Regions from separate parts of the Homo sapiens genome. Here region 1 is linked to region 2. Evidence: promoter capture Hi-C in 16 types of primary human blood cells and fetal thymus (Javierre and others, 2016). All regions are on one chromosome and are shown on one strand. The core of a region is centred on a gene start or on the middle of the fragment in contact, and the rest is flanking DNA. Distances in the headings are between cores, read along the strand shown.

Evidence for each region. Contacts are between HindIII fragments. The CHiCAGO score rates a contact against its expected background, and 5 or more counts as called.
Region 1: a contact is called between a fragment that was not itself captured here and the fragment with the promoter of ATOX1-AS1 in region 2, in 4 of 17 cell types (M1 macrophages, M0 macrophages, M2 macrophages and 1 more). The highest score is 8.3, in M1 macrophages.

What each region holds. Positions count from the first base shown.
Region 1 is chr5:151,666,087-151,672,545 of GRCh38, reverse strand. It overlaps SPARC (secreted protein acidic and cysteine rich), which reads left to right. Exons shown (of 10, transcript NM_003118.4): 5 at 852-973; 6 at 2,762-2,882; 7 at 4,946-5,079; 8 at 6,037-6,185. Among named protein-coding and RNA genes, the nearest start is that of CLMAT3, 7.6 kb to the left of the region's middle. The HindIII fragment of the contact is 4,886 bases long and covers 487-5,372 here.
Region 2 is chr5:151,748,620-151,755,919 of GRCh38, reverse strand. ATOX1-AS1 (ATOX1 antisense RNA 1) reads right to left here and starts at 2,840. Exons shown (of 4, transcript XR_007059008.1): 1 at 2,611-2,840; 2 at 1,798-2,247. It overlaps ATOX1 (antioxidant 1 copper chaperone), which reads left to right. Exons shown (of 4, transcript NM_004045.4): 2 at 4,141-4,216. RefSeq lists an enhancer at 6,001-6,250. The HindIII fragment of the contact is 3,507 bases long and covers 705-4,211 here.

The DNA of each region.
Region 1 (6,459 bases), core at 1,680-4,179, 83 kb after region 2:
GCAAGGACTTTGGAAGCGGTCCAACCAAGCTTTGAACCTAGGCTTCTCCACGCCAGCTTGCTTAGCATCTCGGAGCCTCAGTTTCTCATCTCTCATATGGGGCTGATGAAGATGGCAGACCCTTGTCCCAGGGCTGCCGGGAAGTTTTCAGACAAGCTGAGTAGGCATCCGCTAAAGGATTATTAAAACACCCAAAATAAAGCATTGCGAGGAAAAGGCCACATTAAGCTCTCATCCTGAGGGGATAGCTAATGGTATTTGATCTAGCTGGGCACAGGGTTTCTGTTGAACAGAGGGACATCTACTGAGTCATGTTCCTTCCCGCCTCCACGCCCACCTCATCCGGTGTTTACCAGGCTCTATTGTCCAGCATGGACTTTGAGGCTCTTCTCCCTTTTCCTTTACTGCCACTTAAGTCTGTTTTGTTGGGCCTCAGCTCCCTGGCTCAGTGTCAACAGCTGACTTTCTAAGCCATTCTAGAAAGCTTATTCTGGAATCCAGAAATGCCCCACTGTGATTGTTCAATGGAGACCCAGGAACACAATGGTTGCTTCAATCTTCAGGAAAGCCATATGGTATCTAGTGTTTCTGGGTCCCAGACTGAGCCTCCAGCCCCCCAGAAGTGCCTGACCTCTATCTCAAGCTAAACCTCTAATCCCCAGGCTGAACCAGCTGCTGCCCTAAATGTTGACTGTGAGGCTCAGTGCAAGAGCAGGCAGGACTCAGGGCTGTCCAAAGCCCAGAGTGGGGGCCACAGTCAAGGACTGTCAGCCCTGAGATCTGTCCAGGTAGGATGGGGGTGGATGTGCTAGTCCAGGTGATGCTAACTCCCTTGTCTTTCTGCCCTACAGATCCCTGCCAGAACCACCACTGCAAACACGGCAAGGTGTGCGAGCTGGATGAGAACAACACCCCCATGTGCGTGTGCCAGGACCCCACCAGCTGCCCAGCCCCCATTGGCGAGTTTGAGAAGGTGAGGGCTGAGAGACAGGGGCAGGGGGAAGGGATTGGGCACTTCGGAATACAGGATGTCTGCTCAGGAAACTGTTGGCTTGGTGGTTCTATGGGGCAGTGCCAGTCTCAGAAGTCCCCTTGCTAGACCTAGTCCCAGCAGGAAAGAGGGGATGAGTCAGAGTGCTCTGCCTGGCACTGGATCTTTTCAGCAACCAGCAAGACTTTAAACAGCACCATCAGGTTCCAAGCCCTGTGCCAGACTCTTAGAGCTAAGAGTATAACAGCATCAGCAAAGAATCAGGTCCAAAAATACGGGTTCTGGGGCCAAACTGAAGGTTGACTTCAAACCTCATCTCCATCACTTATTAGGTGTGAGATTTAAGCTAAGTTGCCGAACCTTTTCAGGTCTCAGTTTTCTCACATCCAAAGAGAGGATAAAAATAGTCCTTAACTCATAGATCTGTTGTGGAGATGTGTCAGAAATGTTTGGTACATAACAAGTATCCAATAAATGCTACTTAATTTTAAATTATCTCTCAAATATGTCCCTTCTCTCCAATAGGATCCATCCATCCGTCCAAGTAAATATTTTTTGAGTGCCTGCTCCTGCCTACCATCATGCTAGTGGCAGTCTAGCTCATGGCAGCAAATCTAGGGCCAGCACTATTCCTACAGCCTCCCATCTGGCTTCTCCATCTTCAGTTTCTCCAGAGACTACATAGCCTCTGGGCTCCACATTTTAATATCATTGTTAACATTTTCCTCCTCCTCACCCCTCCCCACTCCCAGTGCCCAGTCACCAGTGCCCATCAGTTCTCCCTCTGCAGTGACATATAAGCTATACTAAATAAGTACGGACAGGATGTTCAACACAGGCTCCCCTCCTCCTAACACAGCTACTTACGGCCACTGCATGTCCAGCCCTCAACATCTCTGCTTGGCCACCCCTATGTTCAGAGATCGACTAGGACTCCATTGGCTCAGCATACAGTTGTACTCACACCTAAGGTTTAGTACAGCGACATATTCAGGATATACAGCTGGATCGTAAGGGAAAAAGACACTAGCAGAGTCTGGAGGAATCTGGGTGGAGACTGACTGACTCCCAAGAGGGGTCATCAGAGTGCATTCTTACCCCAGCTACAAAGAGGCAGCCACATGTGAGTGATGTTTCTTTCCAGGGAAGTTCATTAGAGACTCAGCACCCAAAGTTTTAATTGGAGGCTGGTCACATAGGTACCCTTTGCCTAGCATGCACCAGAATTTCACACTTCCAGAAGGAAAGCAGATGTTCAGCATAAACCAGATTGTTTGTACAAACAGTCCAGGCATAGCGAGCCACTCTTATCAGTTAGGGAAAGATTTACAACAGTGCAGAGAACTGTTTCCCAGCTAAGTTCCCAGACACCAGCCACAGGCTGACCTTACAAGCAGGCCTTTTCTAAGGATAACAATTCCAGGCCTGCTATGTTAACTCTTCTTTGAACACTCTTGTTTCTCTCCCATTCCTGTCTTTAACTTTCTCTTCAAATATCTTCCAGGATTTTTTTCCCTATATCTCAGAACTGACTCAGTCATGCCTCTGCTCAGAGACCATCGATGGCTCTCAGCCTGGGCTGAGCATTGACCTGGGAACCCAAAAAGTGGATTTGTGGCCCAGCCCTATCACTAACTCACTATATGACCTCAGGCTAATGACATTCCTTGCTTAACCCTCAGTGTCCCCATCTCTGAAATGGACAAGGATATTGGTATCAGCGAAGGGCTTTGGGAATGAAGGAGGGGGTACTCTGTGCTTTGCCAACAGGTGTGCAGCAATGACAACAAGACCTTCGACTCTTCCTGCCACTTCTTTGCCACAAAGTGCACCCTGGAGGGCACCAAGAAGGGCCACAAGCTCCACCTGGACTACATCGGGCCTTGCAAATGTGAGTGTCCTTGGGCCCTTCCAGACTCCTGTCTTGGGGAGAGAGCTCTGAGCTGGCACTGATGCTGTCTCTGCCACCCCCATGCTGGGTGATCTTGGGCAAATCTCTCTCCCTTTCTGAGTCTCGGCATCCCCATTTATAAAATGAGGTAATTGTCTATGAGTTGGCTCCTCTCAACTCTGAGTTCAGGGCACTTTCTGGGGAAGGACTGAGCGATTATGGAAGGTCAACATCAGGGAAGATTTCTGGAGTCTCTCACTAGCATCTGAGACAACTGCATTTCATTTCTCTAATGAGGAAGAATTTCTTCTCTCAGGCTAAGTTGAATCTTTCTTGCTTCAACACTGTAAAGCAAAAATGATGTTTGACCTGGGCCTACAAAATATTTTGAAAATATCTGATTTTGAATGCTTTAAAATAAGGGCATGCCTGTCGGTTTGCTTTGGGCCCTGTTACTTGGTACTGTCATATCTTCACCCTTTTACTCCATTACATTCCTATCTGCCCTCCGAAGAGAGAGGATAAGCACCCTCTTCTGGAAACCTGGGAGTCAGTTGTCTGGGGAGGGATGCCAGGGTGTGGTCTGATCTTTGGTTAGTGACCCCAGCTGCAAACTCAGTGGGGCCAAGTGCCTTGTTCAGTATCCTCCCTATCATGGGAGACCCCCAAGACCACACCTGCTCCCCCTCCAAGGCAACATCCACACTGTGGGTCTTGTGTATTCTGGCACCCGATGGCAATGAGGAGAGCCACTCACCTACCTCAGGTGTACAGGGTGCAGAAAAGTATGTAGGGGGTGGGAAACAAAGTTCTCCTCGTGGGACCCCAGGTATGAAATTGAGAAGGTACAGAGTAGAAAAGGAGGGTTGGGGGAAGAAGCATGGGTAGGAAGTCCCTGGGCAGCAAGACTAGAGAGCCTGTCTTAAGGAGTCTTTATGAAGTGGCTTTGCTTTCCCTGAGGCATGTTGCCCACTCACTTCAACTCCTAAGGTTTTTATCACCAGATATTCTCTCCCAGACCCCAGCTGATGATGAAGGTAGCCTCACAGAGGGGACTTTCCCTGGTTCAATGATGAGGGAAGAACAGACCCCTAAGCCCCCAGGTGACCACACTGCCCTGGATGCTGGATGAGGCTCTGACATTGTGGCCTTGAGCAAGTCCCTTCTCTCCATGCTGACCTCTAATAAGTCCAGTACAAAGTGTGAACCTGGGTCAGGCGCGGTGGCTCACGCCTGTAATCCCAGCACTTTGGGAGGCCGAGTAGGGAGGATCACTTGAGCTCAGGAGTTCGAGACCAGTCTGGGCAACGTGGCAAAACCTTGTCTCTGGAAAATATACAAAAATTAGCTGGGTATGGTGGCATGTGCCTGTAGTCCCAGCTACTCAGGAGGCTGAGGAGGGAGGATTGGTTGAGTCCAGGAGGCTGAGGCTGCAGTGAGCCGTGATTGTGCCACTGCACTCCAGCCTGGGCAACAGAGTGAGACCCTGTCTAAAAAAAAAAAAAAGAAGAAAAAAAGAAAAAAGAAAAGAAAAGGAAAAGAAAAGTGTGGACTTGGATGAAATCTTCAGGTCCAACATTTGGGATTCTAAGTTCCAAAGACCAGGTTGGAATCATTTCTAAGAAGGTTCTGGTGGTTACACATTCCTGAGTCCTCTACTCCCCACTCCCTGCCAAGCTGGGCCTGTGGATAGATGTGATCCCTCAGCCTCCCAGCTTCAAACACCTGCCAGTGGTTGACGTGAACAACATGGGCTCAGTCTCAGCTAGGATCACACCCAAAGCCCAGCACCCAGTAAGGTGCAGGAGCCATCCATTTCCCTGAGCAGAGCAGATTAGGCTGAGGAAAGCAGCAGCCATGCCTTTGCACAATGCATTTCTAGGGCATTCTTCCCACACATAATCTCCTCTGCTCATTGTCCTGTGAAGAAACTGTGGCCTGGAGAGGTTGAGCCACTGTGCCAAGGCCACCAATGCAGGTGGTATGTGGGTGGGTGGGGGCCTGGGGTGGGGAGCACGGCCCAGGCAGGGTCTGTGCTGACCGCCCTTGTGTTTGGAACCTAGACATCCCCCCTTGCCTGGACTCTGAGCTGACCGAATTCCCCCTGCGCATGCGGGACTGGCTCAAGAACGTCCTGGTCACCCTGTATGAGAGGGATGAGGACAACAACCTTCTGACTGAGAAGCAGAAGCTGCGGGTAAGTGGTCTCTCTGGCCTTGCTGGCCCCGTGCTGGTGAAGATCCAGTCCCATTCCTAGAACTGGGCCCCCAGCTGCAGGGCGGCATCCTGCTCCGGAGCGTGCATTTACCCCTGAGCACCAGGACACGTACTTCTCTTCCTGCCTTTGGAGGCTGTGGTGCACATTAACATCTTAGAGGCTCTGAGAAGTCCTGCAGCAGAGACCTGCTCCCTTTGCTTAACCTAACGTTAAACAAAAGAGACACAAACAGCCCTATTCCTTTTTCCTTTGGAGTCTGTGGATCTTAAGCTTTAATGAGCATATTAACTACCCCAAGAAGCTGATAAAATGCAGATTCCTTGGCCCCATCTCAGGCCACTGAAACAGTGTCTCTAGAAAGCAAGGCCCAGGAAGCTGCATTCTAAATACTCCCCAGGTGATTTATGTTTATTTTATTTTTTTGAGGCAAAGTCTCACTCTGTTGCCAGGCTGGAGTGCAGTGGTGCGATCTCGGTTCACTGCAACCTCCACCTCCTGGGTTCAAGTGATTCCCCTGCCTCAGCCTCCTGAGTAGCTGGGACTGCAGGCATGCTACCACACCTGGCTAATTTTTGTATTTTTAGTAGAGATGGAGTTTCACTGTGTTGGCCAGGCTGGTCTCAAAACTCCTGGCCTCAGGTGATCTGCCTGCCTCAGCCTCCCAAAGCGCTGGGATTACAGGTGTGAGTGTGTGCCCGGCCTTCGCCAGGTGATTTTGATGTGGGTAGCTATATGGAGAATTCTTTGAGGTCATCCCAGGCTTCTATTTTTGTGAATGAGATGCTAGTACCCATCTATGACACCTCCCTCCCCTCGCTGTGAGCTTTGGTCTGGCTAGTCTCTGCCTGCTCTGGCCTTCTGGGAGGGGTGGGAGGGCCCGACTGGTCCAGACAATCTCCATGGACCTCTTGTCACACACAGTCTCTACTCCCTCAGGTGAAGAAGATCCATGAGAATGAGAAGCGCCTGGAGGCAGGAGACCACCCCGTGGAGCTGCTGGCCCGGGACTTCGAGAAGAACTATAACATGTACATCTTCCCTGTACACTGGCAGTTCGGCCAGCTGGACCAGCACCCCATTGACGGGTAAGACCCCAGACCCTAGAGTGAACAGAGCTCAAGGCTGGCAGGTGCACTAGCTATGGCCAGAAAGCCTCTCAGCAGCCTATACTGCTCCAAGCCCTGGCATCCACAGTTTGCCTGGGGATTGGAGCAGAAGGATGAGGCATCTGGAGAAAAGATGTGGACCTGGGACAAAGAAACCGATAAGACACTCTCATGCTGAGGTGAAAGTCAGTAGGAGCTCAAAATAGCTCCATAATCCTGCAAGTACTAGGCGTGGATATCTGGATAATGAAGG
Region 2 (7,300 bases), core at 1,591-4,090:
CTTTAAAAACCTACTTTAAACCTACTGGCTTTTAAAATCTACCCATTTTATAAGTCTTTATAAAAGACCCCAGAGGCCATGAGGAACCAGAACTACCCAGTTATGCATCTGGTGGTAGAGCCAATCTTGAGATTCTCCTATAAAGAAGTGATTACTCTGTCCATGAAATAGATTTTCCATCACCCTCAAATTTATTTTTGCCCCTCAGAGGTGGAGGAGGAGAGCACTGAACTGTAATGTTTATACCCAGAAGCTGGTTTCTGGCTTCTGACCTTTATACTGTGGGGGATGGGACCTACTCCCTGTAGTCAGCGACAGAAAGTTTCAGGTATCTGTTGACTTTAGGTCCTTGGGCAGCAAAAAACTGTGCTCCCTAAAAATGTGTTTCTAGTTTCAGAGCTTCTGCTGAGAGTCAGGGTTATGAGGGCTGGCGGTGTACTTTGCTTTTCCAGAACCAGCAAGATTTCCCTGGAGCGAAGAAAGCCTAGGTTCATATTCCATACTCAGTAGTTATTTGCCACATGACTGCAAGCTACCTAGTGAACTCTTGGGAACTTCACTTTCCTCCTGAGTGAAATAAGATAAATAGCTCTCTTTCCAGGCTCAGTGAGGACTAACTTAGATACTGTACAAAGATAATTTGACATGTAATAGACAATCAGTAGATTTAGCTCTTATGTTGATCTTGCAAACCCTTCAAAGCTTTGGCTCAGTATATAAGTACAAACCATAGATGAATTGATTTTCTGCTGGTTATCCTAGAGCAAGACTCAGCAAACTTTTTTTTTTACACGGCACCGATAGTAAACATTTTAGTCTTCACAAACCATAGGGTCTCTGGTACAACTACTCAACTCTGCCATTCTAGTGCAAAAGTAAACAAATGAGTTTGGCTGTAGTTTTTTGTTTTTGTGTTTCTTTTTTTTTTTTTTTTTTTTTGGACGGTGTCTCGCTCTCTTGCCAGGCTGGAGTGCAATGGCATGGTCTTGGCTCACTGCAACCTCCGCCTCCTGGGTCAAGCGATTCTCCTGCCTCAGCCTCTTGAGTAGCTGGGACTACAGGCGCATGCCACCACTACCAGCTAATTTTTGTATTTTTAGTAGAGATGGGGTTTCACCATGTTGGCCAGAATGGTCTCGATCTCTTGACCTCGTGATCCTCCCGCCTCAGCCTCCCAAAAATGCTGGGATTACAGGCATGAGCCACCACACCTGGCCCGATTTGGGCTATGTTTTAACAAAACTCTTTGTAAAACAGGTAGTTTGTAGTGTGCCAATCCATGTTCCAGAGCATCATCATTTTTTTTTCCAAAACAATTTTTTTCTTTTAAATTAAATGGAGCCATGATCTCACTGTATTGCCCAGGCTAGTCTCAAACTCCTGGGTTTAAGTGATTTTCCTGCCTCAGCCTCCTAAGTAGCTGGGATTACAGGCACCTGCCACCATGCCTGGCTAATTTTTTTTCTATTTTTAGTAGAGAAACAGGTTTTGCCATGTTGGCCAGACTGGTCTCAAACTTGTGACCTCAGGTGATCTACCTGCCTCAGCCTCCCAAAGTGTTGAGATTATAGGCATGAGCCACATTGCCCAGCCTAAAAAAACTTTTTAATAGAGGAGAGCATCATCTCAGACTGTAATGTGGGGAGGAATGACTTGGGTGTCTTGTTAAAATGAGGATTCTGATTCCGGACTTCTGGGAAGGGACCTGAGATTCTGCATTTCTGACAGGCTCTCAGGTGATGCTCATATTGTTGGGCTGAGGACCACATTTTAAAGACAAGATTTTGTAATACTTACTACAAATCCTTCTTTCCAGAATCTGTTATTGTTGCTGTCTGTGAATAGTCAGGAAACAAGATGAAAAAATCAGAGATGTTTAGAAGAAAGGAAAGACTGACCATTTTCTTTAAGACAGATTTTGCAGATTTGGCCTTAATAAAAGGAGTGGTTTACTAGTCACAAAGGTCAAACAGTCTGCACTGGAAAATCGAGCTGCTTAATTCTTGGTCTTCGTTTCCTCTGTAGAGCACAGTGACAATCCAGACTCAGCGGTGTTTAGAGACTTGGAAAGAGTTTGAGAAGCCACTTAGCCACTTTATTTTCAGGTTTGTAGTTTTGCCTCCCGTTCTCTCCCCAGTAGGTTAAAAATGGGGAGTGGCAGGGCCCGCTCCACATCCACAGAGTCAGTTGAGGCAGGTGTCTGGGAGCTGCACTTTCCACAAGGTCCCCAGATTCTTCCTATGCACACTAAAGTTGAAAAAAATTGAGTTAGCTAATACCCTTTTGGTATAGATTAGGGAACTGGAGCCCTTCTGGAGCAGAGATTTTGCCTGTGGTTTTCTAGCAAGATATATCACTACACCCAGGATTCCAACTGAGGTAATAGACTTCAAATATTTTGAAGTGCTCCATGAAAAATGTAGCCATTGATTTTTGAAGGGAAACAGGAGAGACAAATGGAAGAAATTAATAATCCAATAGCTAACCTTTTACCCAACGGAACCTAGTACTAGGCTCTAATTTCCTTAATGTGTTAGTTATCTATTGCTCCTTAGTAATTATCCCAAAACTTTGTAGTATAAAACAACAAATATATTTATAGTAACTCACACAGTTTCTGAGAGTCAGGAATTTGGGAACAGCTTGGCCTAGTGGCTCCAGCTCAGAGGCTCTCATAAAGCTGCAGTGAGATGTTGGCTGGAGCTGCATTCATCTGAAGGCTTGACTGGAGCTGGAGAATCCACTTCCAACATGTCTCACTCACATGCTTGTTAGCTCGAGGGTTCAATCTCTCACTTTGTGGACCTCTCCTTGTGGTTGCTGGAATTTCTTTGTAATTTAGTAGCTGACTTCCTCTAGTGCAAGTGACCCCAGAAATGGAGCAAGACAGAAGTCACAGTGTCCTTTATGACATTGTGATAGCTTCAGAAGCCACATAACCTCACTTCAAGCCATATTCTATAAGACACACAGACCAACCCGAGACATGTGGAATGGGATTACTCAAGGGCATAAATACCAGAGGCAGAGATCATTGAGGCCATCTTGGATGCTGGCTAACCGTACTTAAAATCCTGTGTTCATCCCATTCACAAATCTAGAGAGGGACTCTTACCCTCAATTTTCAGATGTGGAAACTAAGGCACAGAGAAGTAACATATTGATGATCATGCAACTAGTAGTGCCAGAGCTGGTATCTGAAGCCATATTTATCTGATTTCAGATGGTCTCATTTCCAGAGATTTTAAAATAAAGTATTGGTATAAGTAATCCTTGTGTGAAAGCAAAGCAAAAGATCCAGAAGTTCAAACCAGCCATGTCAATTATCCATTGACTCAAAAATAAGTTTTAAGCACCTACTCTGTCCAGGCACTGTTCCAAGTATTAGGAATCCAGTAGTGAACTGAACAAAACCTCTGTCTTCTGGGAGCTTACCTTCAGACCCTTGATCTGTTAGATATCCTAGAGACTGTAGAATGTAGAGCTTACATGAAGACTAGGAGCCGGGGATCCCTTCCTGCCTGGCCTCCAACCCACTGGGGAACCCAGGCAATCCTTTCTTTCCCTGGACCCAGATGCTGCCTCTGAGAATGCGGCCCTTGGATGAAAGCAGAATCACCTGGGGTAATGAGTAGACATAACAGATTCCCCAGCCCAGACCTGCTGACCAGAACCTGTAGTTTTTGCAAGCTGTAGGTGACTCTAGTGCAGAAAATAATTTTGTGGTTCATAAGTGGGCCCACCAGATCAGCATTGCTCAGAGTATGGGGGCCCATCCCTGTCAGAGTTACTGGTGGCCCTGAGACAAAGCTCATAGCTCAAGAATCAGTGTTTTGAAGGTAGGACTGGGAAAAAGCATTTTAAACTAGATCTCCAGGTGATTCTATTTACTATGTGCCAGACACTGCTAAAGGATTTATAGGGATGATTCCATTGAATACAACTTGTGAGGTAGAAACTCTTAGCTACTCTATAGTTGAAGAGACGGGCTCAGAAACAGGCTTCTGATGAGTCTGATGCCAACCAGGTCCTGCCCAGTCTCTCTGTCTTCTGTCTTGACCCTGAGTGGGCCTGTCTGCTGGCACTGTGTGGGGGTCACTCTACAGGGCTCGGGTCATGGTCCCCCTGTGTTTGTTTCAGAAGCACGAGTTCTCTGTGGACATGACCTGTGGAGGCTGTGCTGAAGCTGTCTCTCGGGTCCTCAATAAGCTTGGAGGTGAGTGAGTGGCCCTGAGTTGGGTGCACTTATGCCATGTTCAGATGCATGCAGATGTTGCAGGAGAGACTTAGGGTTAAGCTGATCATAACAGTAAAACTAAAATATATTGAGTACTTAGCACGTGCCAACTACTCTTGTTATTTTCTTAGTGGCTTATGTGAATCACATCATTTAATCCTCACCACGGCCATTTCAGATAGTTTTTTTTTTACTAGCTCCATGTTAAACAGGAGACAGCTGAAGTTCAGAAACATTAAATAACTTATCTGGGATCACATGGTCAGTAAATGGCAGAGCTGGGATTTAGCCAAATTAACTAGTACTGCCAGGAGTAGCTCTGGAGCCATGGCAGTACTAGTTCATATGTTGGTCATCTCCAGTGTGTACTGCATGACACATCTGAGTGTCATTTTCTATTGAATTTTTTTTTTTTTTTTTTTTTTTGAGACAGAGTTTCGCTCTTCTTGCTCAGCCTGGAGTGCAATGGTGCAATCTCGGCTTGTTGCAACCTCCGCCTCCCAGGTTCAAGCAATTCTCTTGCCTCAGCCTTCCAAGTAGCTGGGATTACAGGCATGCACCACCACGCCTGGCTCATTTTGTATTTTCAGTACAGACGGGGTTTCTCCATGTTGGTCAGGCTGGTCTCGAACCCCTGACCTCAGGTGATCTGCCCGCCTCGGCCTCCCAAAGTGCTGGGATTACAGGCGCGAGCCACCCTACGCAGCCTCTATTAAGGTTTTTTAAATGGGGCTGGGCACGGTGGCTCACACCTGTGATCCCAGCATTTCGGAAGGCTGAGGCGGGCAGATTGCCTGAGCTCAGGAGTTCCCGAGACCAGCCTGGGCAACATGGTAAAATGCCATCTCTACAAAAAATACCAAAAAAATTAGCCAGGCATGGTGTTACATGCCTGTACTCACAGCTAATTTAGGGGGCTGAGGTGGGAAGATCGCTTGAGCCTGGGAGGTTAAGGCCACAGTGAGCCTAGATCGTGCCACTGCACTGCAGTGGGGGCAACAGAGCAAGACCCTGTCTCCAAAAAAAAAAAAAAAAAAAGAAAGAAAAAAAGGAAAGATTTAAAAAAAGGTAAAAATTTTTAAAATTTTGTCTTTTTCTGTTTCTTTACTTCAAAAAAAAAAATTTAAATTAATTTTGAATCACTCACATGCAGATTTTTTTTTTTTTTTTTTTGAGATGAAGTCTCACTCTGTTTGTTGCCCAGGCTGGAGTGCAGTGGCATGATCTCAGCTCATTGCAGCCTCTGCCTCCTGGGTTCAGGCGATTTCCGGTGAATTTTTGTACTTTTCATAGATATGGATTTCACCATGTTGGCCAGGCTGGTCTTGAACTCTTGACCTCAAGTAATCCGCCTGCTTTGGTCTCCCAAAGTGCTAGGGTTACAGGCATGAGCCACCGCACCTGGCCACATGCAGATATTCTTAAAGCACCTCTTTTGAACAATCAGTCTCATCCAGCCTTGTCATTTTACAGCTGGGGAAACTGAGGCCCAGAGAGGACTGGGATCTGGTCCTGGGACTCAGTGAGGTAATAACTGAGTTGTGATCAGAGTTTTGGCAATGCCAGTGCTCAGTCAGCCTTCTAAGATTTTTTCTTTTCTTTTTCTTCCACATGAACTATCACACAATCTTCTAAAATTTTCTTTTTTAAAACCCTAAATAATAATGACATTAAGTTTTCAAATGGCTTCCACATGGACGTGATCTCATTAGCAGTCCTCTGAGCTGTACTTTCCATCTTTGGAATGGGGATGTCGATGCCAGTGTCCAGGAGGTTAAGTGACTTGCCCGTAGTCCCGCAGCAAGTCAGTGGCTGGCCTCTAGCCCTGTAAACTGGGATCTTAATCTGAAAGAAACTGAAACAGTGGAAAGAACCTAGCTGCTGACTTGTCATGTGACTGTGGGCCCTTCTTTCTCGGGCCTGGGTTTCCCCAGCTGTGGTATGGGAATGTATATCTTGTATGTCTGTATCAGCTTTTGCTGTTGATGCTTTTTTTTTTCTTTTTCTTTTTTTTTTTTTTTGGAGATGGAGTTTGCTCTTTCACCCAGGCTAGAGTGGAGTGAAGTGGCATGATCTCTGCTCACTGCAACCTGCTCCACTCTGCCCCGGGTTCAAGCGATTCTCCTGCCTCAGCCTCCCGAGTAGCTGGGATTATAGGTGCCCGCCACCACGCCTGGCTAATTTTTTTTTTTTTTCTGAGGCAGAATTTCGCTCTTGTTGCCCAGGCTAGAGTGCAATGGCGTGATCTCAGCCCACCGCAACCTCCACCTCCCAGGTTCAAGCGATTCTCCTGCCTCAGCCTCCTGAGTATCTGGGATTACAGGCTCAGGCCACCATGCCCGGCTAATTTTGTATTTTTAGTAGAGACGGGGTTTCTCTATCTTGGCCAGGCTGGTCTCAAACTCCTGACCTTAGGTGACCTGCCCACCTTGGTCCCCCAAAGTGCTGGGATTACAGGCGTGAGCCACCGTGCCCAGCCTGTTGATGCTTTAAAAATGAAACTGTACAGGAGCTCCTCAAATACAAAGCAGCAGGCTCTGGATGAAGTGGGGATGGGCCTAATTTCGTTTGACAGCTCAAAGACATCTACCCATCCCAGGAACTTCATCCAGGCTGGAGTGCAGTGGCGCGGTCTTGGCTCACTGCAGCCTCAACTTCCCAGGCTCAAGCCATCCTCCCACCTCAGCCTCCTGAGTAGCTGGGACTACAGGACCACACCCGGCTATTTTTTTGTTTTTGTTTTTGTTTTTTGTAGAGACAGGGTCTTGCTTTGTTATGCAGGCTGGGAAACCATATGTTTTGTTTGTTTGTTTGTTTGTTTTGAGAGGGAGTCTCACTCTGTCTCCCAGGCTGGAGTGCAGTGGCATGATCTTGGCTCACTGCAACCTCTGCCTCCCAGGTTCAAGTGATTCTCCTGCCCCAGCCTCCCGAGAAGCTGGGATTACAGGCACATGCCACACACTGAGCTAATTTTTGTATTTTTAGTAGAGATGGGGTTTCACCACGTTAGCCAGGCTGGTCTTGAACTTCTGACCTCAAGTGATCCACTCGCCTCAGCCTCCC